Regions from separate parts of the Homo sapiens genome. Here all the other regions are linked to region 1. The links are contacts of gene promoters, found by promoter capture Hi-C in blood cells and fetal thymus (Javierre and others, 2016). All regions are on one chromosome and are shown on one strand. The core of a region is centred on a gene start or on the middle of the fragment in contact, and the rest is flanking DNA. Distances in the headings are between cores, read along the strand shown. Region 1 holds the start of QNG1 (Q-nucleotide N-glycosylase 1). Region 2 has its middle 69 kb from the start of SLC28A3-AS1. Region 3 overlaps UBQLN1-AS1 (UBQLN1 antisense RNA 1). Region 4 overlaps LOC124902191 (a long non-coding RNA gene). Region 5 has its middle 120 kb from the start of SLC28A3-AS1. Region 6 has its middle 140 kb from the start of RMI1. Region 7 has its middle 120 kb from the start of RMI1.

The links. Contacts are between HindIII fragments. The CHiCAGO score rates a contact against its expected background, and 5 or more counts as called.
Region 2: a contact is called between a fragment that was not itself captured here and the fragment with the promoter of QNG1 in region 1, in 6 of 17 cell types (neutrophils, naive CD8 T cells, total CD4 T cells and 3 more). The highest score is 7.4, in neutrophils.
Region 3: a fragment that was not itself captured here is called in contact with the fragment with the promoter of QNG1 in region 1 in 1 of 17 cell types (non-activated CD4 T cells); the score reaches 5.9 in non-activated CD4 T cells.
Region 4: a contact is called between a fragment that was not itself captured here and the fragment with the promoter of QNG1 in region 1, in 1 of 17 cell types (naive CD8 T cells). The highest score is 5.3, in naive CD8 T cells.
Region 5: a contact is called between a fragment that was not itself captured here and the fragment with the promoter of QNG1 in region 1, in 8 of 17 cell types (total CD4 T cells, total CD8 T cells, non-activated CD4 T cells and 5 more). The highest score is 10.2, in total CD4 T cells.
Region 6: a contact is called between a fragment that was not itself captured here and the fragment with the promoter of QNG1 in region 1, in 1 of 17 cell types (total CD4 T cells). The highest score is 5.2, in total CD4 T cells.
Region 7: a contact is called between a fragment that was not itself captured here and the fragment with the promoter of QNG1 in region 1, in 3 of 17 cell types (neutrophils, naive CD8 T cells and total CD4 T cells). The highest score is 5.2, in neutrophils.

What each region holds. Positions count from the first base shown.
Region 1 is chr9:83,955,140-83,958,707 of GRCh38, reverse strand. QNG1 (Q-nucleotide N-glycosylase 1) reads left to right here and starts at 1,966. Exons shown (of 4, transcript NM_032307.5): 1 at 1,966-2,544; 2 at 3,068-3,327. The coding sequence starts at 2,208. The HindIII fragment of the contact is 8,080 bases long and covers 1-3,568 here.
Region 2 is chr9:84,207,036-84,210,603 of GRCh38, reverse strand. No RefSeq gene overlaps it. Among named protein-coding and RNA genes, the nearest start is that of SLC28A3-AS1, 69 kb to the left of the region's middle. The HindIII fragment of the contact is 7,346 bases long and covers 1-3,568 here.
Region 3 is chr9:83,709,442-83,713,009 of GRCh38, reverse strand. UBQLN1-AS1 (UBQLN1 antisense RNA 1) reads right to left here. Exons shown (of 2, transcript NR_135839.1): 2 at 1-512. Among named protein-coding and RNA genes, the nearest start is that of UBQLN1, 3.3 kb to the right of the region's middle. The HindIII fragment of the contact is 516 bases long and covers 1,705-2,220 here.
Region 4 is chr9:83,728,546-83,732,113 of GRCh38, reverse strand. All of the region lies in intron 1 of LOC124902191 (a long non-coding RNA gene), which reads left to right. Among named protein-coding and RNA genes, the nearest start is that of UBQLN1, 22 kb to the right of the region's middle. The HindIII fragment of the contact is 3,988 bases long and covers 1-3,568 here.
Region 5 is chr9:84,155,070-84,158,637 of GRCh38, reverse strand. No RefSeq gene overlaps it. Among named protein-coding and RNA genes, the nearest start is that of SLC28A3-AS1, 120 kb to the left of the region's middle. The HindIII fragment of the contact is 889 bases long and covers 1,392-2,280 here.
Region 6 is chr9:84,116,668-84,120,235 of GRCh38, reverse strand. No RefSeq gene overlaps it. Among named protein-coding and RNA genes, the nearest start is that of RMI1, 140 kb to the right of the region's middle. The HindIII fragment of the contact is 1,401 bases long and covers 1,030-2,430 here.
Region 7 is chr9:84,096,466-84,100,033 of GRCh38, reverse strand. No RefSeq gene overlaps it. Among named protein-coding and RNA genes, the nearest start is that of RMI1, 120 kb to the right of the region's middle. The HindIII fragment of the contact is 4,368 bases long and covers 1-3,568 here.

The DNA of each region.
Region 1 (3,568 bases), core at 717-3,216:
AGTCACCACATCTGGCCGGCATTTGACTTTTTTCTATCAATAAACCTCAGTGAGAGAAAAGGGTCTAAGTTATTTACCCTTCTGGATTATTTTGCAGATTGCTAGATTTCCTTGCTAAATCAATTTGTCTCCCAAGACTTAGGTGCTGTGGTAGAAAGGAAAAATCCCAAGCCAACAGACTTACATTTCCTTAACAACTGTATTAATGTACTAGTGACTTTTTCTGGAAAACGTATCATAGTGGAGTCCTTAAAGTTCCTTTTTCTTACCAAAATGAAGAAACTGGAGTGATGAAGATCTGCTTTTCTAGGGTAACAGCTGTCAAATTTAAAAGCTCCATTTGGGGCCAGGTGTGGTGGCTCATGCCTGTAATCCCAGCATTTTGGGAGGCCAAGACAGGCGGATCACCTGAGGTCAGGAGTTCGAGATCAGCCTGGCCAACATGGTGAAAACCTGTCCCTACTAAAAATACAAAACTTAGCCGGGCGTGGTGGCGGGCACCTATAATCCCAGCTACTCGGGAGGCTAAGCCAGGAGAATTGCTTGAACCCAGGAGGCGGAGGTTGCAGTGAGCCGAGACTGTGCCACTGCATTCCAGCCTGGATGACAGAGTGAGACTCCGTCTCAAAAAAAAAGCTCCATTTGGGAGGCCGAGGAGGGTGGATTACCTGAGGTCAGGAGTTTGAGACCAGCCTGGCCCACATAGGGAAACCCCATCTCTACTAAAAATACAAAAATTAGTCAGGTGTGGTGGCTGACACCTATAATCCCAGCTACTTGGGAAGCTGAGGCAGGGAGAATCACTTGAACCGGGGAGGTGGAGGTTGCAGTGAGCTGAGATCATGCCACTGCACTCCAGCCTGGGCGACAGGGTGAGATTCTGTCTCAAACAAACAAATTTAAAAGCTCCGAATCCTCCAAAAATACCAAGATTTTCCTGTCGGTAACTAGAGATGGGTACTGATGATTATTTTTAATAGGTGATTTTCAAAGATGTGAACGTTATCCATGGAGATTTAAGTCTCCAAAAGGAAAAAAAATGCATACCTTTATACTAAAACTTCATCACCAGTCAAATTTGGATCATCACTAAATTGGCTTCTACACCTCTCTCCTAATATAAGGTACTTGTGTAAGTTTGCAGTTGTGAGACACTTATTTCCTCATTTTTAATGTCTTCTCAGTAGGGCCACTGATATAGTCACTATTTGACTGACCAGAATGGTTGGCACTGGTGATTGGCTCATAAAGTGCCCTCGATTTAGGGGGCTCAATTATCAAAGGTTTAAATCCTAGCCCAAACCATTGCTGTGATGGGGGTTAATCAATGAACCACTCAGCTTCACTTGCAAAAGCGGGATCACAATAGCCGCTTTCGTCATGACCCAGCCTAGGTGAGATTTAGTACTTAAGTACACTGCCAGGCACACAAGGTTAATTTAACAATTTAACACATTTGTTTCCTCATCCATTTCTCCAAACCTTCCAACTAATCCTAACGTTCGTTCGGCCAAATGGGCCAGGAATTCACTTAAACAAAAACAAAAAACAAAACAAACAAAAAAACACTCCCTGGGGCTTGGGGAAGGAGGCACCGCCGCCCATGTCGCAGTCTGGGGGTGGCTCAGTCCTCAGCACCCAGATCTACGGCCATAATGCTCTTCGAGGCCAAGGAGCCCGGATGCGGGGCGTTGCCGAAGGCGTCTTGCTCAGGCTGCGGGAAAGGAGAGGGGTGGGAGCGGGGTGGGGGCATCGCGACCCAGGGCAAGGCGGCGAGTCGCCGTCTTCGAGTCCCACCTGTCCGAAGCGGGGTGAGAAAAGGCAAAACATGGCAAAGCCATGCACCTCCCAGGGTGGGCAACTCACGGCCGGTGAACGCCGGACCCTTAGCAGTTTCCAGACCTTTGGAACCGGAAGCGGAGCCTGAGAGCGCGCCCGAGAGGGCGTGAACGGGACCGCTTTCCCGGAAGTGCTTGCGGCCTCTGCCCAGCGAGCTGCCCCGGGGTCTCTCTGGTTTCCTAATCAGGGCAACGCCGCGGGAGAGAACCTTTACCTTGGCTGCACTAAGTTCTCGGTGCCACTCCCTGGCAGGGCGGGACCTTGTTTAGGCCCTGTGATCGCGCGGTTCGTAGTAGCGCAAGGCGCAGAGTGGACCTTGACCCGCCTAGGGCGGGAAGAGTTTGGCCCGCCGGGTCCCAAAGGGCAGAATGGACGGGCTCCTAAATCCCAGGGAATCCTCTAAATTCATTGCAGAAAACAGTCGGGATGTGTTTATTGACAGCGGAGGCGTACGGAGGGTGGCAGAGCTGCTGCTGGCCAAGGCGGCGGGGCCAGAGCTGCGCGTGGAGGGGTGGAAAGCCCTTCATGAGCTGAACCCCAGGGCGGCCGACGAGGCCGCGGTCAACTGGGTGTTCGTGACAGACACGCTCAACTTCTCCTTTTGGTCGGAGCAGGACGAGCACAAGTGTGTGGTGAGGTACAGAGGGAAAACATACAGTGGGTACTGGTCCCTGTGCGCCGCCGTCAACAGAGCCCTCGACGAAGGTTGGTGCCATACTTGCCATCGGACCTAACGGCCTTTGAGGTTTCCATTTACTTGGGGTGTGTGTAGGGGAGTTCCAAGGAGCGGGTTGGGAGATGGAATAATGGAAAGCGAACCTGAAGTTCGTTGCAAGTCCTTATGCTTAAAATAGAAGTATGAAAAGGGGCATATTTTAGTGGAAAATGATGTTAATATTTATCATTGCAGCATAAAAGTTACAGTAGCATAAAAGTCAGTTTTATAAAGAATGCCATTTGAATGACACCTGAAGAACAAAAGGACCGATGTTATAAAGCAATTTACTCAGAATACATCTGATGTAATATTGCAATAGTTAGAAATGGGTGAATAAGTACAGATGAACAAGTAGAAAATGAGTTTTGCTTTAGATTTTTTATTCTTCCACTTTTGGTGCATTCCTATACCACTCATTTGGTTTCATATTAATTCCATGTTGTAAAAGCAAGGGTTTAATGCATATGGAAGTATGACATTGGTCCTCTGAATTTTATTTTTTCACTAAAGGGATACCAATAACTAGTGCCTCGTACTACGCGACAGTGACCCTGGATCAGGTTCGGAATATACTTCGTTCTGACACAGACGTTTCCATGCCTTTAGTAGAAGAGAGGCATCGGATTCTCAATGAAACCGGGAAAATTCTGCTGGAGAAGTTTGGAGGCTCTTTTCTCAACTGCGTCCGAGAAAGTGAGAATAGTGCGCAGAAGTTAATGCACCTGGTGGTTGAAAGTTTTCCTTCTTACAGAGATGTGACTCTGTTTGAGGTGAGTTGCTTCTGTTGGGGATTTTAGAAGTCTTAATCATCTCAGAGTTAACTCTTTTACTTCCAGAACTCATTTTAAGAATAAAAACTTAAATTTTTAAATGTATTCCTTGTGGAAGAAACTAACAAAATCAAGTAGTGTTTCAAAGTCATTTCTTATGTTTTCTTTTGTTTGTTTGTTTGAGACAGAGTTTTGCTCTTGTTGCGCAGGCTGGAGTGCAGTGGCGTGATCTTGGCTCACC
Region 2 (3,568 bases), core at 474-2,973, 250 kb before region 1:
GTACACTGGGACAGAAGTGAGAAGCTCACCCATATGCAGGCTTTTCCACGAAGGTCAGAGAGGAGTGGAGAAAACGGGGATATGAGATTGATGGTATCATACACAAGAGACTGGAGAGGTCAATGGATGAAAGAAGGCTGTGGGCAGAAAGCAGAAAGAATGGGATACCATAGGATGCTAGAAATGTATTACTTTAGGAGCTACCAAATCAAATGCCTCCAGGGATTACACTTATGAAAAAAAGACAAGTGGGCCAAGGGAAATTATAAGGTGAACTGAAACAGATAGGCCTCAACCCAAAGGCATTTAAGCTCATTTTTTTTTGTTTCAAGATGGAATCTCACTCTATCACCCAGGCTGGAGTGCAGTGGCATGATATCTGCTCACTGCAACCTCTGCCTCCTGGGTTCAAGCGATTCTCCTGCCTCAGCCTCCTGAGTAGCTGGGACTACGCCCAGCTAATTTTTGTATTTTTAGTAGAGACGGGGTTTCACCATATTGGCCAGCATGGTCTCAATCTCCTGACCTCGTGATCCACCCGTCTCAGCCTCTCAAAGTGCTGGGTTTACAGGCATAAGCCACCACACCTGGCCTAAGCTCAATTTCTAAAAAAATAATGAATGTCAACCAAAACAGAATCTATGAGCCAAATTCAGCTTGCCAGACTGACTTTTGCATTAAACAATAGCTATGTCAATAGTTAGCTGTAGTGGCAGAGAGTATAGACTCAGGAGCCAGACTATTTGGATCAAATCCTCCTCCACCACTTACCAGCTGTGTGACCTTCAGCAAGTGGCTTCACATCCTAAGCCTCAGTTTACTCAGGTGTACTATCAGGGAAGGAACTACACTTGTTCACAGGTAGGGGTGATCATATGCCCAGGTGGGCCTAGGACGGTCCTGGCATATAGAATATTTTTATAATGATTAGAATAATTAAAAGAATAATTATTAACAGTGTCCCTTTCACTGTCAAAACTGTCTGACATATAGGGTCATGGGAGGGTTAAAGAGATCATAATCTATGTAAAGTACTGACCATTGTGCTTAGGATATAGAAGATGCACCCAAAATAATTGACAATAGCTTCATGTAAGACTAGTTCTGTGCAGAATTAGGAGGGGAGAGAAGTTTGTCTTCAGAGTTGTCCTAGGCCCCAGCCTCATGCTACCCAGATTCCTTCACATTGGCATTTCACATGTGCCTGGACCTTTCTTAGTGACCTCAAAAAGCTGTCTCTGATCCACTCTTTCAGGACTCCCCTTTAGGGTTCAGCAAGCTGATCTCCCAGACAGACTAGTCCAGGCCTTGCCAGGTTCCCAGGAGATTTATGTACTGCTCTTCCTAGGTAAGTTGAGATGAAAAAGGATTAATGGGGACTTCAGGCTGGTAGAAGGAGATGCTTTTGGGTAGCTTTCAGTATTTCTTCAAACAACATTACACTAACAGCCCCTTGTGAACTTGAAGCCTACCTTGATTTCTCCAATCTATTGTATATATATATATTTTATATATATATATTTTTATATGTATAAAAAATAGATTGGAGTATTTATATATAGTATATATAAAATAGAGTATATAATATATATTATATATATTACATAATTATATATTATATATAATATTCATAGCCATTCATGAGGGATCCACCCCCATGACCCAACATCTCCCACATTCAACATTGGGATCACATTTCAACATGAGATTTTGAGGAGGCAAATATCCAAACCATATCAGAAGGTTTCTCCACTCTCATGTCTCATGTATAGGCTGGAAAAGCTGGGGGCTGCTTGAGCATCTATCCTCAAGCATCCTCTCCACATGGCTAGGCTGGGTTTCCTATGCAGTATGGTGGTCTCAAAGTAGTTGGACTGGTAGTAGGTGGTCCGTGCATTTCCCCAAGAGGGAATATTCCAGGAGACCCAACAGAAGCTGCAAGGCTTCTTATGATTTGGAGGTTAAACTATGTCAGTTCCACCATATTCTATTGGTCAAGAGCAAGTCACGGGCCAGCCTAGATTCATTAAGGTGGTGGAATAAGTTCCACCTCTCAGTGAAGAATGGCTTGTAGGGAAAGAAAGAACTTAACAGTATTCATCTTGGAGATAAACTACCATACCATCCACCCATCTCTCTCCACCTTGTTATGAATGGAATTCCTAATGGATTCAAAGTAACTAGAAGAGAGGATTCTGAATGCTCTCACCACAAAGAAATGATAAATGTTTGAGGTGACGGATATACTAAATACCATGATTGGATCATTGCATAGTGTATACATGTATTGAAACATCACCCTGTATACCATAAACATGTACAAGTATTATGTATCAAATAAAAACAAACAAAAAATAATGAAATGGAAGACTTAGAAAGTAGCATCTGACTAAAATTTCCTGAATGATCAGTCTTACATTTTTAAAAATTGTTATTATATCAATAATATCTGTTCATTATTAAACTAGCAAATAGAAATAAGTAAATAAAAAATAAAAGATTTCCATGACCCAGAGAAAATCATTCCGAGGTAGGTATGGGTAAAATTAACATTTACCAGATTAGAAAGCCTGCAGACGTGATTTTTCAGCTCTTCCCCTTAAATACCAACTTAGTGCAGGAAAGCACTCAATGTTACCCAACTTAGTTGAACAGGCAAAGAGCCAGCCCCCAGATGTCAGGAAAAATATAGGGGCTTAGCAATTGAATGGGATGGAGGAGACAAATGATTTGAGCAGATGCCACGTTGAAGTTGTGAGAGGAAACATCTGCTGTCCCATTTGCTAAGGTATTTGGTAATCAGGAAGATGGTGTAAATGCACAAACGGAGCAACATGTATTGATATGCAGAGCATGAACACTGATGTCAATGTTTTGTAGCTAATTAGACGGCGAGTGTTACATTGTGTCTCTAATTTTACAGAATGAAAGCAGAATGTTCCTCTCCATCAGAGTTTACTGGCAATTTTCAAGCCGAGTGTGGCCTCATTCCCATTCGTCTGACAGCATAATGAGCAGCAATGAACCACACAGTAACCAAGCCTCAGTTCCTTACATTATACAGCCCAGATGTCCAGGCTTCATTAGTTTTAAGTGTCATAATAAAGTCACATTTCTTTGTGATTAAAAAGTGATGGTGCCTCGGGTTCCCACTGACTCGGCCTGAGGAAGTCCAGTTCTTCTACCAGCTTCCTCTTCACCAGCATTTCTGGGAATCCCAAGGAATCATTTCGCTTGTCAGGATGCTGTTTTCATGGCTCACTGCAGCCTCAGCTACTGGGGAGGCTCTGGCTGCCGGTGGTGGCTCCCGGGGGGTCCCTGGATCTTCCTCTTTCCAGCTGCTGTTTTCTGCTGTACCATTCTGCTCCCCAAAATGGACTCCTCTGACTTCCCATCATTGAATGCAGAAACCAAGCCGTAAGGTTTAAAAGGGGTCTTATGGGGGGTTGGAGTTTGGAGTTAATTTAAGGGAGTTACAACAAAAGAGAGAAACAGCTGGATAGCAGATCGATTCTCTATGGTTCACAGGCAGTTTCCCTTGCTTGCCTCCTCTTTGCCTGATCCTCTA
Region 3 (3,568 bases), core at 713-3,212, 250 kb after region 1:
CACTGAGCTGGCTGTCACTGGCTGTCGTATAAAATCCACTTTTCATGGCACATCACAATCTGATCGAGAAATGGTTCACTGTTGTTGCGTAGAATAAGAGAAGATGACACTTCAAAACGACAATTTTTTTGTTTTTCGCTTAGTTCACAAGGCACCCACTTACCAAGCTTTTTCACCTTTCCAATTTGCTTCAAATGCCGAACGACTGTAGAATGGTCAATGTTGAGTTCTTCAGCAACTTCAGGTGTAGTTATAAGAGGATCAGCTTCGATGATTGCTCTCAATTGGTCACTGTCAACTTCCGATGGCTGGCCACTATGCTCCTCATCTTCAAGGCTCTCCTCTCCTTTGTGAAACTTCTTGAACCACCACTGCACTGTGCGTTCATTAGCAGTTCCTGGGCCAAATGTGTTGCTGATGTTGTGAGTTGTCTCCGCTGCTTTATGACCCATTTTGAACTTGAATAAGAAAATTGCTCGAATTTGCTTTTTGTCTAACATCATTTCCATAGTCTAAAATAAATATAAAACAAACAGCAATGTCATTAGCAAAAAAAAAAAAAAAAGAAATGCACATTAAAATGATGTATAACATAACCACATTTATTTAAGAATGTATTCCAATATCAAATGACAAATTCCAACAGTGCAAAAACCACAATTACTTTTGTACCGACCAGCAGTTCCCCAACCTTTTTGGCACCAGGGACCGGTTTTGTGGAAGACAATTTTTCCATGGACTGGGGGTCAGGGGGAGATGGTTTTGGGATGAAACTCTTCCATCTCAGATCATCAGGCATTAGATTCTCTTAAGGAGCACACAACCTAGATCCCTCACATGCCCAGTTCACAATAGTGATCACTCTCCTAACAGAATCTAATGCCGCTGCTGCTGCTGATCTGATGGGAGGTGGAGCTCAGGCAGTAATGCTTGCTTGCCTGTCACTCACCACCTCCTGCTGTGTAGCCCAGTTCCTAACAGGCCACAGACTGGTACTGGTCCATGGCCCAGGGGTTGGGGACCTCTGGTATAAATGATGATTAAGACTTGATCCCTGTTTTCAAGGCCTTTATCTAATAAATGAGATATGCACAGACATATGATACAAGACAGAATGTGGTAAGTGACATCAAAAAGTAATAAAGCTATATGGGAATACAGAGGATTTAAAGACTATTTCGGATCCAAAAAGGGTTATTAGGGAATGTCACATTTGAGTCTTGCGGGATGGGTAAAATGATGGGGTCAAAATAAGGGGGAAGAATTTCTACTTGCAGTTGAAGCTGGAAAGTGCAAGACATGCTTGGAGAGCTTAGCTGACCAGTTTGGTTGAGGATAAGATATGAGTGAAGAGCAAGGTCTTTGGTTTACAGAAGACCCTGGACACCATGCCACAAAGTTTAGACATTACTCTTAACACTTTGGTGACAGTGACTGGAAATTTTCAAGCAGGTGTCATAATCAAAGCTTCGTTCTAGGATAACATATGGCATCACAGGAAAATAAGAGTTGAGGATGGAGACTTTAGATTGAGGCAGAGGAATCTGTAGGAGGTTATTGCTGTAATCTAGGCCAGAGCTCATGAGGGTGTAAACTAGACTGGTAGCAGGAGAAAGTTTCAGATAATAGAAGCTGTGCTACAAGTGATGAATGGTCAAGTGAAATGTGCAGGTAATTATGACGGAAGGTCAGATTCTGTAAGCTTGGGTATTCAAGGAGTTTCAGAAAGCAGGTAGCAATAATGGGTACAAGGAGGTGGGTGTAATGACTTGAAGGAATGATCAGAAGTTAAGAAAAGTATAATGTATAAGTGCTTCTAGGGATGATAATAAAGGTATTTGACTGGAATGGAGCATATATATTGAGAGCAACAGGAGTCAACACTAGGAGTTACCTGTGGAAGGCCTAGTTAGGAAGCTCTGGGCTGGGCGCAGTGGCTCACACCTGTAATCCCAGCACTTTGGGAGGCTGAGGTGGGTGGATCACCTGAGGTCAGGAGTTTGAGACCAGCCTGGCCAACATGGTCAAACTCTGTTTCTACTAAAAATACAAAAATTAGCTGGGCGTGGTGGTGCATGCCTGTAATCCCAGCTACTCAGGAGGCTGAGGCAGGAGAATCGCTTGAACCCAGGAGGCGGAGGTTGCAGTAGGCCGAGATCATGCCATTACCCTCCAGCCTGGGCGACAGAAAAAAACTGTCTCCAAAAAAAATAAAAAGCTTTGGCTTTATTTTCTAGGCAGTGGGAAACTTATGATAGATTTTTCAGTAGCCTAGTAACATGATGAAGTCATGTTATTTATAGCACTTACATGACATATGTACTACCTCGTATTAAAGGTATGTTCCTGGACACAAGATTAGAGGATTAAAGTTTGTCAGAGGATACTCAATGAATTCTTATTGAGTTGACTGAATCATTTTGTCAAAAAAGAATTATTCTATCGTGAATAATAACCTTCTATCAATATACTTGAACTCTGAATAATGGATTTTCTCAAAATGGGACTTCTTCAGTTGGAGCTGGCTCATACTGGCTTGTGAGGGCTTACTGGTAAAATTTCACGTGTTTTGTGAGGCAGAGGATCTCAAGTTGGTAACCATTTGCAAGTATTTACATCAAGGAAATTGGCAAATGTAATAAAGTTTATTTTCAGGAGGACTGGTTATTAGTCATTTACCAGGACATCACTGCCAGTCTCCCTCCTATCCCTCACCCCCATCATCCAACTATCACTTCAAGTTTTTTGACGGCAGAAACTGAGTCTTATTATTCTTGTATGCTCAATATAGTATTATACAGTATTAGGATACTGTGATAAAATATGTTCTTAAAATTTTCTCCAGACAGACCATTTAACAAACAAAAACCATTCAGAAGAAAATGCCACAAATAAACATCTAGACCTGGGGTTGGCAAACTATCTTCTGTAGGCCAAATCAGATCCTATGTCTGTTTTTGTTTTGCAAGTAGAGTTTTTAGTAAACATAGCTATGATTATTCATGTATGTATTGTCTATGATTACTCTGTGATACAAGGGCATAGCTTAGTGTTTTAGACCGAGATCCTGTGGCTCACAAAGCCTAAAATATTAGGTTGATGCATAAATAATTGCGGTTTTTGCAAATTTTTTTTTTTGGCACCAACCAAATATTTACTATCTAGCCCTCCCAGAAAGTTCACTAATCTCTGATTTACACCATAGTGCCCCCACCTCCGATTCTCATGCAGGTCAGGATTATATCTAAAAAGTGCCATAACAATGGATAACTATATGGTATCTTCTTACAGGTAAATCTTATTACCTTATAGTGTCACACACATCAAACATTTTTAGACAATAATGTAGACACAGATAATTGCAAAGTCCATAAATGCAGGGAGACAGACACACACACACACACACACACACACACACACACGGTATTTGTTGGAGAATCAAGGGAAAAACCATATCTCTAAATGGTAGGGAGTGAAGTCTTCCTGGGGCATGTGATACAGGATGAGTAGAAGTTAGACAGGTGAAGGCAAGGGGAAAGTCATTCTAGGTAGAGGAAGGCAGCCTAGG
Region 4 (3,568 bases), core at 742-3,241, 230 kb after region 1:
TCTGCTTGACAAACAGCTCTGTCAAGGCAGTCAAGTATTTCTTAGGACTAAAACAAATATGCATCTCTAACAAGATAATTGGTGTAAAACTCAGAAAAGAATAAATTGAAATGTAGAAAAAAATGGAAGAATAAACACAATTTGGCCTGCCTTAGACCATGCCCCTCCCATTTTGTTGCTAATATGAAAAAGAAAAATTACTGAAATAGTCTCCTTTTTAGGCAGTTTGCTCAGCAGTTGAGTTCTACTTCCAACTGCTCCATTTAGGAGAAAATAAAACTGTCCTCTGTTCTTTGGAGGTGAAAACATGGAGGCAGTTTCTCTATTTGGAATATCATGAAATTTGGGGTGACTGTGTTTAGTATTTGATGTAAAGTTTTTTTCTCTTTGTCCCAGCTCCCTGAAGCTATTTAATAAAGGCCTTTACATGGGCGCGGTGGCTCACGCCTGTAATCCCAGCACTTTGGGAGGCAGAGGCGGACAGATCACGAGGTCAGGAGATCGAGACCATCCTGGCTAACACAATGAAACCCCGTCTCTACTAAAAATACAAAAAATTAGCCGGGCATGGTGGCGGGCGCCTGTAGTCCCAGCTACTCGGGAGGCTGAGGCAGGAGAATGGCGTGAACCCGGGAGGCAGAGCTTGCAGTGAGCCGAGATTGCGCCACTGCACTCCAGCCTGGACGATAGAGCGAGACTCTGTCTCAAAATAAATAAATAAATAAATAAATAATTAAAGACGTTTACAGTTTTATTGCTCTTGTATTAATCAGGGATACAGAAGTATTATTTATCCAGCTTTTCCATCAAATGGAAAACTTTATAATAGCCCTTCTAAAGTGAGATGTAGATACTACATGCTTGTGAGATGCAGTGGCCTTTAGTGAGTTAATGTCTAATGAAGGAAAATGGGATGGAAATCCAGAAAACCCAGACTATGTTTTGGCTGTGTTGACCATTTACCCGATGATAGCAATTTAGTTGTCCTTTGCCTCAGTCTCTTCATTCTAAGACTTAGACTTACAATACTGGTCATATAATTCATAAAGATTTGCACTTATCTTTTGGAGCATGTTGGGATAGAGGCAGTGTATGAAGTGGTAAAATAGATTTAATGGTCCAACACCAAACAAGACAAAAATAACTTCTGCATTTCAATAAAGGCTATGTTTTCTTCCTCCTCTTCCTTTTTCTTCCCCTTCTCCTCCTCTTTCTCCTTTTTCTCCTCCTTGTTTCTTCTTCTTTTTTGTAGAGGTGGCGGTCTTGTTTTGTTGATCAGGCTGGTCTCAAACTCCTGGGCTCAAGGAGTACTGGCCTCCTGAAGTACTGGGATTACAGCCTTGGCCTCCTGAAGTACTGGGATTACAGATGTAAGCCACTTCACCCAGCCTCACCCACTTTTACTTTTGTGCCTTGTGATCTATTTCTTTTATTCTTTTTTTTAACTTTTATTTTAGGGTCAGGGGTACATGTACAGGTTTGTTATATATGTAAATTGCATATCACGGGGGTTTAGTGTACAGATTATTTCTCCACCCGGGTAATAAGCATAGTAACTGATAGGTAGTTGTTTGATCTTCACCCTTCTCCCTCCCTCCACCTTCAAGTAGGCATTGGTGTCTGTTATTCCATTCTTTGTGTCCGTATGTACTCAAAAGTTTAGCTCTCACTTGTAAGTGAGAACATGTGGTATTTGCTTTTCTGTTCCCGTGTTAGTTCACTAGGATACTGGCCTCTGGCTCCATCTATGTAGCTATAAATGATGTGATCTTGTTCTTTTTTTGGCTGCACAGTATTCTATGGTGTTTGTGTACAACATTTTCTTTATCCAGTCCACCGTTGATGGGCATTTTGGTTGATTCCATGTCTTTGTTGTTGTGAATAGTGCTGTGATGCTGTGATGAACATACACATGCATGTGTCTTTATGGTAGAATGATTTATTTTCCTTTGGGTATATGCCCAATAATGGAATCGCTGGGTTGAGAGGTAATTCTGCTTTGAGTTCCTTGAGAAATCGCCAAATTGCTTTTCACAATGGCTGAACGTGTGTGTTTAGTACACTGAACCTAAGAGATTTGGCTTCTACTTTGCAGAAAAGCTACTCCTTTTGAAAGCATACTCTCTCTCCTGCTCCTCCTCCTCTTTCTCTTCCTTTTTCCTCTTCTTTCCTCTCTCCCTTCCTCCCTTGCATTGTACTGGCTTGCTTAGCAGTGAATTTTAAGATACAGCCTTCTAAAAAAAAAATGGCTAGTTGTTGTGTAAGATATTTTACAGAGTCTAAACTCCTACAAAAATAGGTCTAAGCCCAGTCCAGCCTGCCTGTAAAGTTTTCATTTAATTATCAAATTCAGCCTATATTTAGAATAACATTCTAATTACACTGTTCACTTAGATGTATTTTTGTACTGATTTTTTTAAATTCACAGTTTCATAGGGGAAACAGCCTCTTTTGAGGTTGAAAAAACAATATTTGTGCTGAAAAATTTTAGTTGCTTTTTTCTTTTTTTTTTTAAATTGTTGAAGAGAAATTTTATGAAATTGTCAACTAATTCTTTATAATATAAATATATAAACATTTGTGGTAATTCTTATAAACAGTTCTGACCAATTCCTTTCATGAAAAGCAGTGTGCTCTGTAGTAATTGCTAAGCAAACAGAAAGCTGTGTTGCAAAGTGGTTTTTTTTTGTTTTGTTTTGTTTTTAGCTTTTTTTTTTTTAATTTTTTTTTTTTTTTAATTGATCATTCTTGGGTGTTTCTCGCAGAGGGGGATTTGGCAGGGTCATAGGACAATAGTGGAGGGAAGGTCAGCAGATAAACAAGTGAACAGAGGTCTCTGGTTTTCCTAGGCAGAGGACCCTGCGGCCTTCCGCAGTGTTTGTGTCCCTGGGTACTTGAGATTAGGGAGTGGTGATGACTCTTAACGAGCATGCTGCCTTCAAGCATCTGTTTAACAAAGCATATCTTGCACCGCCCTTAATCCATTTAACCCTGAGTGGACACAGCACATGTTTCAGAGAGCACAGGGTTGGGGGTAAGGTCACAGATCAACAGGATCCCAAGGCAGAGGAATTTTTCTTAGTACAGAACAAAATGAAAAGTCTCCCGTGTCTACCTCCTTCTACACAGACACGGCAACCATCCGATTTCTCAATCTTTTCCCCACCTTTCCCCCTTTTCTATTCCACAAAACCGCCATTGTCATCATGGCCCGTTCTCAATGAGCTGTTGGGTACACCTCCCAGACGGGGTGGTGGCCGGGCAGAGGGGCTCCTCACCTCCCAGTAGAGGCGGCCGGGCAGAGGCGCCCCTCACCTCCCGGACGGGGCGGCTGGCCGGGCGGGGGGCTGACCCCCCCACCTCCCTCCCGGTAGTTGCTTTTTTCTCCACCAGATTTTAAAGTGAGAACTATGTTGGAGGTTGCCAGGCCCTGCTAGGCTCAGTCAATACAAGAATCCTTCTGTAGCATCATGTAATATACCCATGTAACAAACCTGCACGTGTACCCCTGAATCTAAAATAAAAGTTGAAATTATTTTAAGAAAAAGAATACATACATTCATAGATA
Region 5 (3,568 bases), core at 587-3,086, 200 kb before region 1:
TACACCTCACAGTTCACCACTCCATTTCACTGTTTAAAGTGCAAATAAAAATTCTGTGATGTGTGAAATGAATCTCTGTAAAGGACTCCTCAGCCTACCTTTTAATAGAATTGAATAGAAATCTATTTTCTGTGGTTAAGCGTGGGCAACAAGCTTTCCCACCAAAAATGGGCATTTTCCTATACAAATGCTTTTACTCAAAAGTAGTTAAAGTTGTAAATATATCTGCCCCACAATGGATAAGCGTATGGCTCCCTCATTCAACATTAACTGCTGCAATTGTTTAGAACTTAGTGCAACAAATTGTGTGTGTTTGTGTATGTAGGAGTATGTTATCTTTGACATTGTTTATAATTGCCAGCATATGGTAATAATAAAAAGCAGACCAAATTTTAGTTGATTTTGTATTGCTTTTAAGTTCTTCATAAACCATGTGCCTGCTCATTGTCTGTACCTGAGGCAAAGTGCTCCCACAGCTATGCCCCTTTGTATGACACTACCGCCAGGCAAGGGCACAACTGTAATCTGAGGTTATACAAGGAAACTGCCCAGACACAAGGATTCCACTTCTGGTTGAATCTAGACAGAGAAATCAGTAGGGTACCTCACCTCCAGAATATCAGTGAGAACTGGTAAAGTGTTTGTTGGATGAAATTTTTTAAATGATATAAAAAAAAGTCCAGTCCTTTCAGAGGATGATAATTTTTTAAAATGAGATTCTAATTCTCACGTCTTGATTAAATGAAACATGCTTTTTCCAGGTCTTCACTTTCCATTCTGGATTGTAAATATTTGCTGAGTGAACAAACAAATAGATGTTTGGGTGAGTTCATGAGAGGAGAGCTACTATTTATATATCTACTTGAACTCATGTCTCTCAATTTGCTAAAAGAAATGGTAATAGGATTATCTACTCAGAGGGTGCTCCAGAAACAAACAGGTGAACTGAACAGGTAACCAAAAGCTCACCAACAAATTTCAAGTCCAGACCTGGAATTGTGTACATGATATTCAGAACACAGAAAGGCGTCCCAAGTCTAGGATGGCCAACTTTTCAGTAAATGCCAGAGAATGACAAACAGCACCATATCTTGTCCTATAGCCCTCTTTGCTGCCATAAGGAAGAGGGCCAAGAAAGAAAGAGAAATTAACTGAGCCTTTTACTTTGGAAATGCCATGTTAGCCATGAAGACTTAATGTTTCAGATATGTCCTGTGTTCTTTCACTTGACCATAAACTCTAACCCTGGATCATTTACAATCAGTGAGGACAAGCATCTGAATTTAGGATCAACCAAAAGAACCCATTCCAAAGGTTTTCCTCTGCTGCTGTCAGAATACAGGAGTTTTCTCCTTTTTATTCTAATCCTCCCACTAGCAGAGAATAAAGCTTTTTCATTTCTTATTACCTTTATTCTGTTAATCTAACTCTAAGACTCTTTACAAAAGGAAGGAAATTGAGAAGAAACTTATTTCAGAAGAAAAGTTACTCCATAAAAAAAAGACATACACACATACAAAAATAATAAACTCCAAAGGTTTTTTTTGTAATGCATGTGTTTCCTTAAGTTGGGTAGTGGATACACAGGAATTCATCAAATTATTCTCCATAATGTTTTTAATGTCTTAAGTGTTTGATAATAAAGAAATCTGCTCATTGTAATAAATTCAAGTAAGATGAGTTTTTAAAAAGTCAACAAAAAAACTTACCATTCAGAAAAAACTAACATTTGGTGAGTATTATTCTGTGTGTGTGTGTGTGTGTGTGTGTTTGTGTATTAGTAGAAGAATGTATGAATGCCTAAATGGACATAATTTCACACAAATGAAGTCATAATAGAAATGCCATTTATTTATTTATTTATTTTATTTATTTATTTTTGGAGACAGAGTCTCACACTACCACCCAGGCTGAAGTACAGTGGCATGATCTCGAGGCTCACTGCAACCTTCACCTGGTGGGTTCAAGTGATTCTTGTGCCTCAGCCTCCCAAGAAGCTGGGAATACAAGCACATGCCACCACACCCGGCTAATTTTTGTATTTTTAGTAGAGACGGGGTTTCACCATGTTTTCCAGGCTGGTCTTGAACTCCTGGCCTCAAACGATTCACCCACCTCAGTCTCCCAACGTGCTGAGATTACAAGTGTGAGCCACCACACCCAGCCTAGATGCTATTTATTTAAAATATTAACTTAAAATTTTCTTCAGTTAATCAGAAAAAATTAAATTAAAACTGAAGGGGATTTTTTTAGCCACAGGAAAATTATTTACTAAAAGCTTAAAGAGAAAAAATACAAAAAGACCCAAAACATCAGACGCTTCATTTTTTTTTAAATAAAAGTGAATCCCATAGAAAATATCAATTGCCTCAGCAATGAGTGTTGAAAAAAGTGATTACTCTTACACTTCCCATTTCTCATTTTTTTCAGACTATTTCTCTATGATCAAGATTATAACATTTACATCCATCTTTATAACCATAATTCCCATATTTGTTTAATGTCATTCTGTGATTAAATGGATTCCAAGTTCACCAGGCCCTTCGCTATGGCTGTTCTTTTGCTGGGTTCCCATATTTACATCTTCCATGGCTAGATTTCATCGTCACATACTTTTTCAAGTAGAATTCAGTTCTTCTGTCTCTGAAAAAATCTTTGGCCATTACACTTGAATGATAACTTGCCTCAGTATAACATTTTGGGGGTTCACAATTCTTTCTTAGACATTACAACAGATTTTTTTCTGGAATGCAGTGTTGCTGTGGAAACATCTCTGGCCTGATTTTTCTCTTCCTTGTAAATGACTTGCATTTTCTACCTGGATCCATGAGCAATTTATTCTCCATCCTTGAAGCAGACAACTTAACTAAGACATAGTTCAGTGTCAGCCACTCTGTAGCCATTTTTCTTTGAACCTTGTTCAGGAAACTTTCTTCCTCTTATGTCTTTGAAGAGTCTGCACACTTCATTTGTTGGGCTGTGTCCTCTAAGTCCACCAATTATTCTTAAATGTTTGATTATCTTTGTCTGCCTTCAATATGTATCTAATTTCTCTTAAATGTTTCACTCTTGTTTTCCTCTGCAAGCATTGTGATTATTTCAGGCCCTTTCTCTGTCGGTAATTCAGTTTATTGCCGTGTCTGTTCTATTCCCTGATACATCAGATGTAAGTGTCAGGTCTATAATGGTATTGATTTGTTCTTCAGTTTCTTTCTTTAGGTTTTCCATCACTTCTTCTTCTTCCTGTTCTAATGTCCCAGCATCTCATTTCTGAGTTCTTGTTTTGTTGAATTTGTGATCTTATTAAGCTCTTTTATTGAATAAATCTCTCTATTCCGTGAGCTATGGTTTCTTACAGACTCGATTCTCTGGGTGTTCAATGTTATATTCCTTTCATCCTCTCTTATTTTGGGGGGAGCGTGGTATGTTTGCCCAGGGCTTGCTCTGATGTGGTGTGGGTAAATTCTTATCAGCTCTCTTCCCATTGTATTGGAGACCACATTGTGTTCACCTCTGAGCTAGAGTTTGAGGAGACTGTGTCCATGTTTCCGTTACCTGCTCTCCTGGG
Region 6 (3,568 bases), core at 481-2,980, 160 kb before region 1:
GCTTCTAGATTCTGCATTTGGATTAAGAGTTAGGAGAACCTGGCCGGGTGCAGTGGCTCACTCCTGTAATCCCAGCACTTTGGTAGGCTGAAGTGGGTGGATCACCTGAGGTCAGGAGTTTGAGGCCAGCCTGACCAACATGGTGAAACCCCGTCTCTACTAAATACAAAAATTAACTGGGTGTGGTGGTGGGTACCTGTAATCCCAGCTACTTGGGAGGCTAAGGCAGGAGAATCACTTGAACCCGGGAGGCAGAGGTTGCAGTGAGCTGAGATTGCACCATTGCACTCCACCCTGGGCAACAAGAGCGAAACTTCTCTCAAAAAAAAAAAAAAGAATTAGGAGAACCTAATGTTTGTAAATTTCATGAAAGAAGAAGCCCATAAGTTAAGAGTATAGTTTCTGAGAATAAAAAGGAAGTGGCAAAACAAGAATGGAACTTTTTGAGCTTGTTAAGACCCTAACTCACAGGAACCATATCCCTGCCTCCCAGCATGTTCCTTAATAGACCTATCCCATTAGGAATGTTGGAGCTCACAGGAAGCTGTGCGGAGATAAACTGCATCTGATCTCACCCAACATAATGACCTCACTTCCAATAAAATGTATAATTCTTTGCTGGTTAAGTTGGGCATTTACTTTAAAAGTTAAAATGCTTGTGGGTGTGTACTTTCTTCTGACAAATATGAACCCACCTGACACCCTGTGGAATTGAACTGTGTTTGTATTTTGAGCAACAGGCCTCACAAATGACAAATGTTTGAAAAACAAAAAAAAACTCATACAAAGGTTAAACCTGCTGTAATATAAAAATGGGATATATGCTGTTATCTATAAAATTCTAATATCTTGCATTTCTTGACAAATTTTATCAACAGTATCTTTATTGTTGTTTAAACAGTCTAGTAACCTGACTTCAATTGAAAAGATAAATAAACCAGAGAAAGACCCAGTGTAGACCAAGGAGAAAGACTGCAGCCTGAAGTAAGAGTGTTCATGCATTTATTCAATGCATTTAATCACCAAGCTTTATTAACAGCCTGTTATGTGCCTCTGTGCTGGGTACAGCCAGACTGAGTTGAACAAGCCATAAGAAAAACCAAGGAGAAAATAAAGTGAGCTCCTAAGACATGAGAGCAAGAGCAGCAAGTTCTAGAAGAAACAGAAGTAACTTGACATGACTTACTTGAAAAGGATACCCTTGCAAACTGGGTAACAGCACAGAGAAATTAAAAAAGAGAGGACAGGGCCAGGTGCGGTGGCTCACGCCTATAATCCCAGCACTTTGGGAGGCCGAGGTGGACGGATCACCTGAGGTCAGGAGTTCAAGACCAGCCTGGCCAATATGGTGAAACCCCGTCTCTACTAAAAATACAAAAATTAGCCGGGTGTGGTGGCACGTGCCTGTAATCCCAGCTACTCAGGAGGCTGAGGTAGAAGAATCATTTGAACCTGGGAGGCGGAGGTTGCAGTGAGCCAAGATTGTGTCACTGCACTCCAGCCTGGGTGAGAGAGTGACACTCCATCTCAAAAAAAAAAAAAAAAAAAAAAGAGAGAGAGCAGACAGCTGGGCTTGCAGAACACAGAGGACATGAAATGCTTAGGAAGAAAATCAGCCCAGACAAGAAGAGAAAAGTGGGCTGAGACACATCTAACATTCCAGGCTTGAAAACTTTACCAAGTTATGGGTAAAAAATAATTTACATATCTACTTTTTTGTCCACAATTGAGTTAATTACTTAGAGATATTTGTGATGAGTTCTATAGATTTCTTTAGGCTGCTTCGTTAAATCCACATAAACGCTACCGTACTTATGATGGTGTTTTACCCAGCATAAGTAAATTGAAAATATTGTAAGTCAAAAATGTACTTGATATACTCAACCTACCGAACACCATAGCTTAGCCTAGCCTATGTCAAACATGCTCAGAACACTTACATTAGCCTACAGTTGAGCAAAATCATCTGGAAACACAGAATACTGTAGATTGTTGGTGATTTACAGTGGTGATCATGTGTCTGGCTGGGGGCTGTGGCTCATTGTCACTCCCTGCCATCACAAGATAGTATCATACTACATATTACTAGTCCAAGAAAAGATCAAAAATCAAAATGTGAAGCACTATTTCTACTGAATGTATATTCAGTATGTAAAGCCAATTGTAAAGCCAATATTCACACAGAGAGAATAGCTCAGCAGAGAGAGACTCCATTTGTTTGGGGGAAAATAAGAGGAGAGAATAAGAGTCTCTGCCTCGTAATCAAAAGAATTCTCCTAGATCTTAACCAAGACCACCAAGGTGGTATCTCTACAAGCCTGCAAGAACCACAGCATTACTGGGCTTGGAGTGCCCTGTTAAACAAATATGGCTGCAGTGACCAAAGATTTAGATCACAACCTACACATTCTCTTAAATATCTGGAAAGCTTTCCCAAAAAAGAACGGGTGCAAACAAGCCCAGACTGCAAAATTTACAATAAGTACGTAACTCATCAATGCCCAGACACCAACAAATATTCTCAAGCATCAAGACCATCGAGGAAACCATGACCTTACCAAATGAACTAAATAAGGCACCAGCAAGACAGAGATCTGATACCTTTCAGATAGAAAATTCAAAATAGCTGTTTTGAGGAAGCTCAATTAAATCTAAGATAACACAGAGAAGGGTAGTCAGAATTCTATCAGATAAACTTAACAAAGAGATTAAAATAAAACAATCAAGCAGAAATTCTGGAGTTGAAAAATGCAATTGACATACTGAAAAACGCATCAGAGTCTCTAAACAGCAGAATTGATCAAGCAGAAGAATTAGTGAGCTTGAAGACAGGCTATTTGAAAATACACAGTCAGAGGAGACAAAAGAAAAAAAAGAATAAAGCATGCCTACAAGATCTAAAAAAAATAGCCTCAATAGCCTCCTTGAGGAGGAGGTAGAGAGAGAGATCTGGGTAGAAGGTTTATTGAAAGAGATAATAACAGAGAACTTCCTAAACCTAGAGACAGATATGGATATTCAAGTATAAGGAGGTGATAGAACACCAAGTAGGTTTAATCCAAATAAGACTGCCTCAAGACATTTAATACTTCCAAATGTCAAAGATAAAGAAGGATCCTAAACACGGCAAGAGAAAAGAAACAAATAACCTACAAAGGAGCTCGAATATGTCTGGCAGCAGCCTTCTCTGTGGAAACCTTACAGGCCGAGAGATAGTGGCATGACATATTTAAAGTGCTGAAGGGAAAAAACATTTATCCTAGAATAGTATATTCAGCAAAATTATCCTTCAAACATGAAGGAGATATGAAGATCTTCCCAGACAAACAAAAGCTGAGGGATTTCATCAACAACAGACTTGTCCTGAAAGAAATGCTAAAGGAAGTTCTTCAATCTTAAAGAAAAGGATGTTAATGACCAAGAAGAAATCATCTGAAACTACAAAACTCACTGGTAACAATAAGCACACAGAAAAACACAGACTATTATAACACTGTAATTGTGGTATGTAAACTACCTTAAGTAGAAAGACTGAAAAATGAACCTATCATAAATAATAACTGTAACA
Region 7 (3,568 bases), core at 309-2,808, 140 kb before region 1:
GGGATTACAGGCCTGAGCCACTGCGCCCGGCCAGAACTAAGTATTTTTAATGTAGATTATTTTGGTTTAGCTAATGAGAAGAATTAGAACTCATCAAAAAATGTTGGTTTCAACAGACTTTTTGTTGATCTCTACTAAGATTCTTTGTTCAGAAATTTGGACTCCTGTTGCACCAGGAAATCTTTGGTTTCTGAGAAGCAGAACAATATTTACCTGGTTTGAAGCTGTGGGTGAGGTTTCTTTTCCTCAAATGAGGCCAGTGTTTCTTAGCCTGTAACACCCTAAATCTCATTAGAACTTGCCACCAGACCCCTCCTCTACTCATCCTTTCTCTTCTCTTCCTCTGGGCGGACCTGGCTGCTGGTCCTAGTTGTTTTCCTAATGAAGCCAGCTGTGTTAAGGCACAGCTTAAAGGAGTCTACTTTTGTAATTTGCACTGTCTCAAACTAATTATTATACTTAAATCATCTAGAAGTGTGATTTATTCATTCACTTTTTAAAGCCATTGACTGTGCTGATGAGCAAAGTGGAAATTAGTAAAATTTCCCTGTACATCACATCAGTTCTCTGTTAATCTATGTTCTGAGAAAATTAAGAATAATAAACTTTTATCTAAGCACCTCAAATGTTACATCCTAGGGCAGTTAAAAAGCAGAGGGATTGATCAACCATATGAATCAAAGGCAAAGACTGTGAAAAGTTCAAAATTAATAATGTTCTCTTTGAGCGGAAAATCTATCTCTTTTCGAGCATTAGAGTCATTAAATTGTACATTTCTGATTTTGCTAATGAGTTCAATTATATTTGAAATATAGATTAATTATCCTAAAAGCATTAATCAATTTGGCAAGGACACCTCAATAATGATGCAGTCTCTTTATTCCTTCAATATTCCATCATAGTATGATGTAATCTCTTTATTGCTTCCCCCATAATCGTAATCAAGGATTGATACAAATGATTCTTCCCTTCAGTTAATTCGAATAGAACATTTCTCTAGTACTTTCAGTTGATAGGATGGTAAATAATTTTTAGACTGAAAGTTGAAGTGGATTGATTAGAAGCAATTTTTTCTGTTTTGCACAATAAAAAGATGAACTACATGGTTCGCCAAGCCAATTTGCAGAGCAACCTCTTCTCTCTAATTGCTGCCAGACTAATGTAGTAGAAGCCGAGTCCTAGGAAGTAGAGAAATCCATTTACCCAGCCATGACATTTAAGTAGCAAACACAAGTAGTGGATTTTTCCATTATCCTTCATTTCAACCCTGCTACATTCCACCTGTGACCCTTATGTGCTGAGGGCAATGTGCTTTCATACAATTTGGTAACTCTAATAAGGGTCCACTTCAAAATGTTTGAGAGCAGGCTAAAAACATTTTTTAGAAAAGCATAATTAAGTTCATAACCAATCTCACTAATTTCTGATAATGTATTGAAAAGCCAAATTATTTGATAAATGCTCTAATAAATGTACATCTTACCAGAGGAAAAATACCATGTTTTCTCTATCACAAATAGCTCCCTGTTCACCAGTAGTCCCAGCACAGTTCTTTTACTTTGTGTCAGACTTTCAACAGCAAGCAGGCAAGTTTTCTGAAAACCACAGGGGCTCCATTGCTGTATGCCCTTCCCAAAAGAAACAGGAAAGCCTCTTTAAATAAAATCCATATTGAAATTCATATCAAAGAAGAAAAAAAATTCTGTACTTTTATTTTTTACGAATCTCCTAAGACATGTGAGTCTCAGCCAGAGTTTCCTCAGGTAAATTATTATCAAACTGAAATACAGAAACTCCCAGGGATGTGTCTTTTCTGTGGTATGTTCACCATCCTTCCTACTGCAAGTACTTGGAATGGAGTAGATGGCCCATAAGGTTTGCTGAATGCATCATTAGGGTAAGCCTGGTAAAAGTTAAAACCTTAAAAAATGCTTGTTTCTAAATAAAAACAGAGTAGTAGGAATGTTATAACATGCTACAGAGTACATATTATATTATAGGTAAAATAATAATCAAAGGTGTAGAAAGTAAAATCCACTGTTAATCTTTTTTTTTTTTTTTTTTTTTCCCCAAAATAAGGAATGGAGCGGTCTGGTAGTACATGAAGGGAAAAAGGTTGACACTTCCCACTGGGAGAAGTCAAATTTACCCCTCAGCAATGTGGCAGTAAATGGTTTTTTGTGTGCTGTTGTTTTTGTTTGTTTGTTTGTTTTTAGATAGGGTTTTACTCTCTTGTCCATCTGGAGTGCAGTGGTACAATTTCAGCTCACTGCAACGTTGGCCTCCCAGGTTCAGGTGACCCTCCCACCTCAGCCTCCAGAGTAGTGGGACTACAGGCCTGTGCCACCACATCCAGCTAGTCTTTGTACTTTTTGTGGAGACAGGGTTTCGCCATATTGCCCAGGCTGGTCTCTAACTCCTGAACTCAAGTGATCCTCCGACTTTGGCCTCCCAAAGTGCTAGGATTACAGGTGTGAGCCATCACACCCAGCTGCAATGGTTCCTTTCAGGCTAAATAATTCCCTTTAGGTCAAATTCATTTGCCTCATCTCATTCAAGTGTATTGAGACTGTACTTATGAAACCTGGTGCCTATCATAATCCCAAAAAACAAGACCCTAAATATAAAGATTGAAATCCTGAAAGCCAAATTCTGGGGAAGGGATTACTGCATTTTCAGTTGTATGCAGGATAGTTGCTTCGTGTTAGTTTCATCACATTAGGTGAAATTATTACTTTATGTGTTAGTCTGTTCTTGCATTGCAATAAAGAAATACCTAAGCCTGGGTAATTTATAAAGAAAAGATATTTAAAAAAAAAACATGTTTGCTTAATGAAGGATGCATGTTTACAGGGTGCTTCCACTTTAAGGGTGGGGAGAAGACCAAAACAGTATTTTTTTTTTCCTTTGAGACGGAGTGCAGTGGCACCATCTCGGGTCACTGCAACCTCTGCCTCCCAGGTTCAAGCGATCCTGCTGGCTCAGCCTCCCAAGTAGCTGAAATTACAGGCAACACGCTACCACACCCAGCTAATTTTTATATTTTTTAGTAGAGACAGCATTTCACCATGTTGGCCAGGCTGGTCTCAAACTTCTGACCTCAGGTGATCTGCCCACCTCAGCCTCCCAAAGTGCTGAGATTACAAGCATGAGCCACCACGCTGGGCCCCAAAACAGTATTTTTAAATGAAGCAAAGTCAGTTTTATTTCACTTCCCCCCACAAAAAAGGAGTTACTCTTGACCTCTAAAAAAAATAAAGCAACTAAAAGAATTTAAGATTTTTACCTCTGATTGAAATTTCTTCAGTAATTCATCACCACCACACTTGAAAGCAATGCAACACATTCACTTCAGAGTTGAATTCAGAAGCCGATGCCACAAAAAGCCTCAAGTATAGCATCTTCAGTTTCAAACAACCCTGTGCAATACCACAAAAACAGAGGACAGTCCTTGCAGAATATGTTATCTGAAAACTAAATGTTTTACCCCTTTATTTTGTTGCTTGCTTAAATTGCTTTGGTAAGAGATTTATCTGCTAGAGAACTTTCCGATATATATTTAATAGCC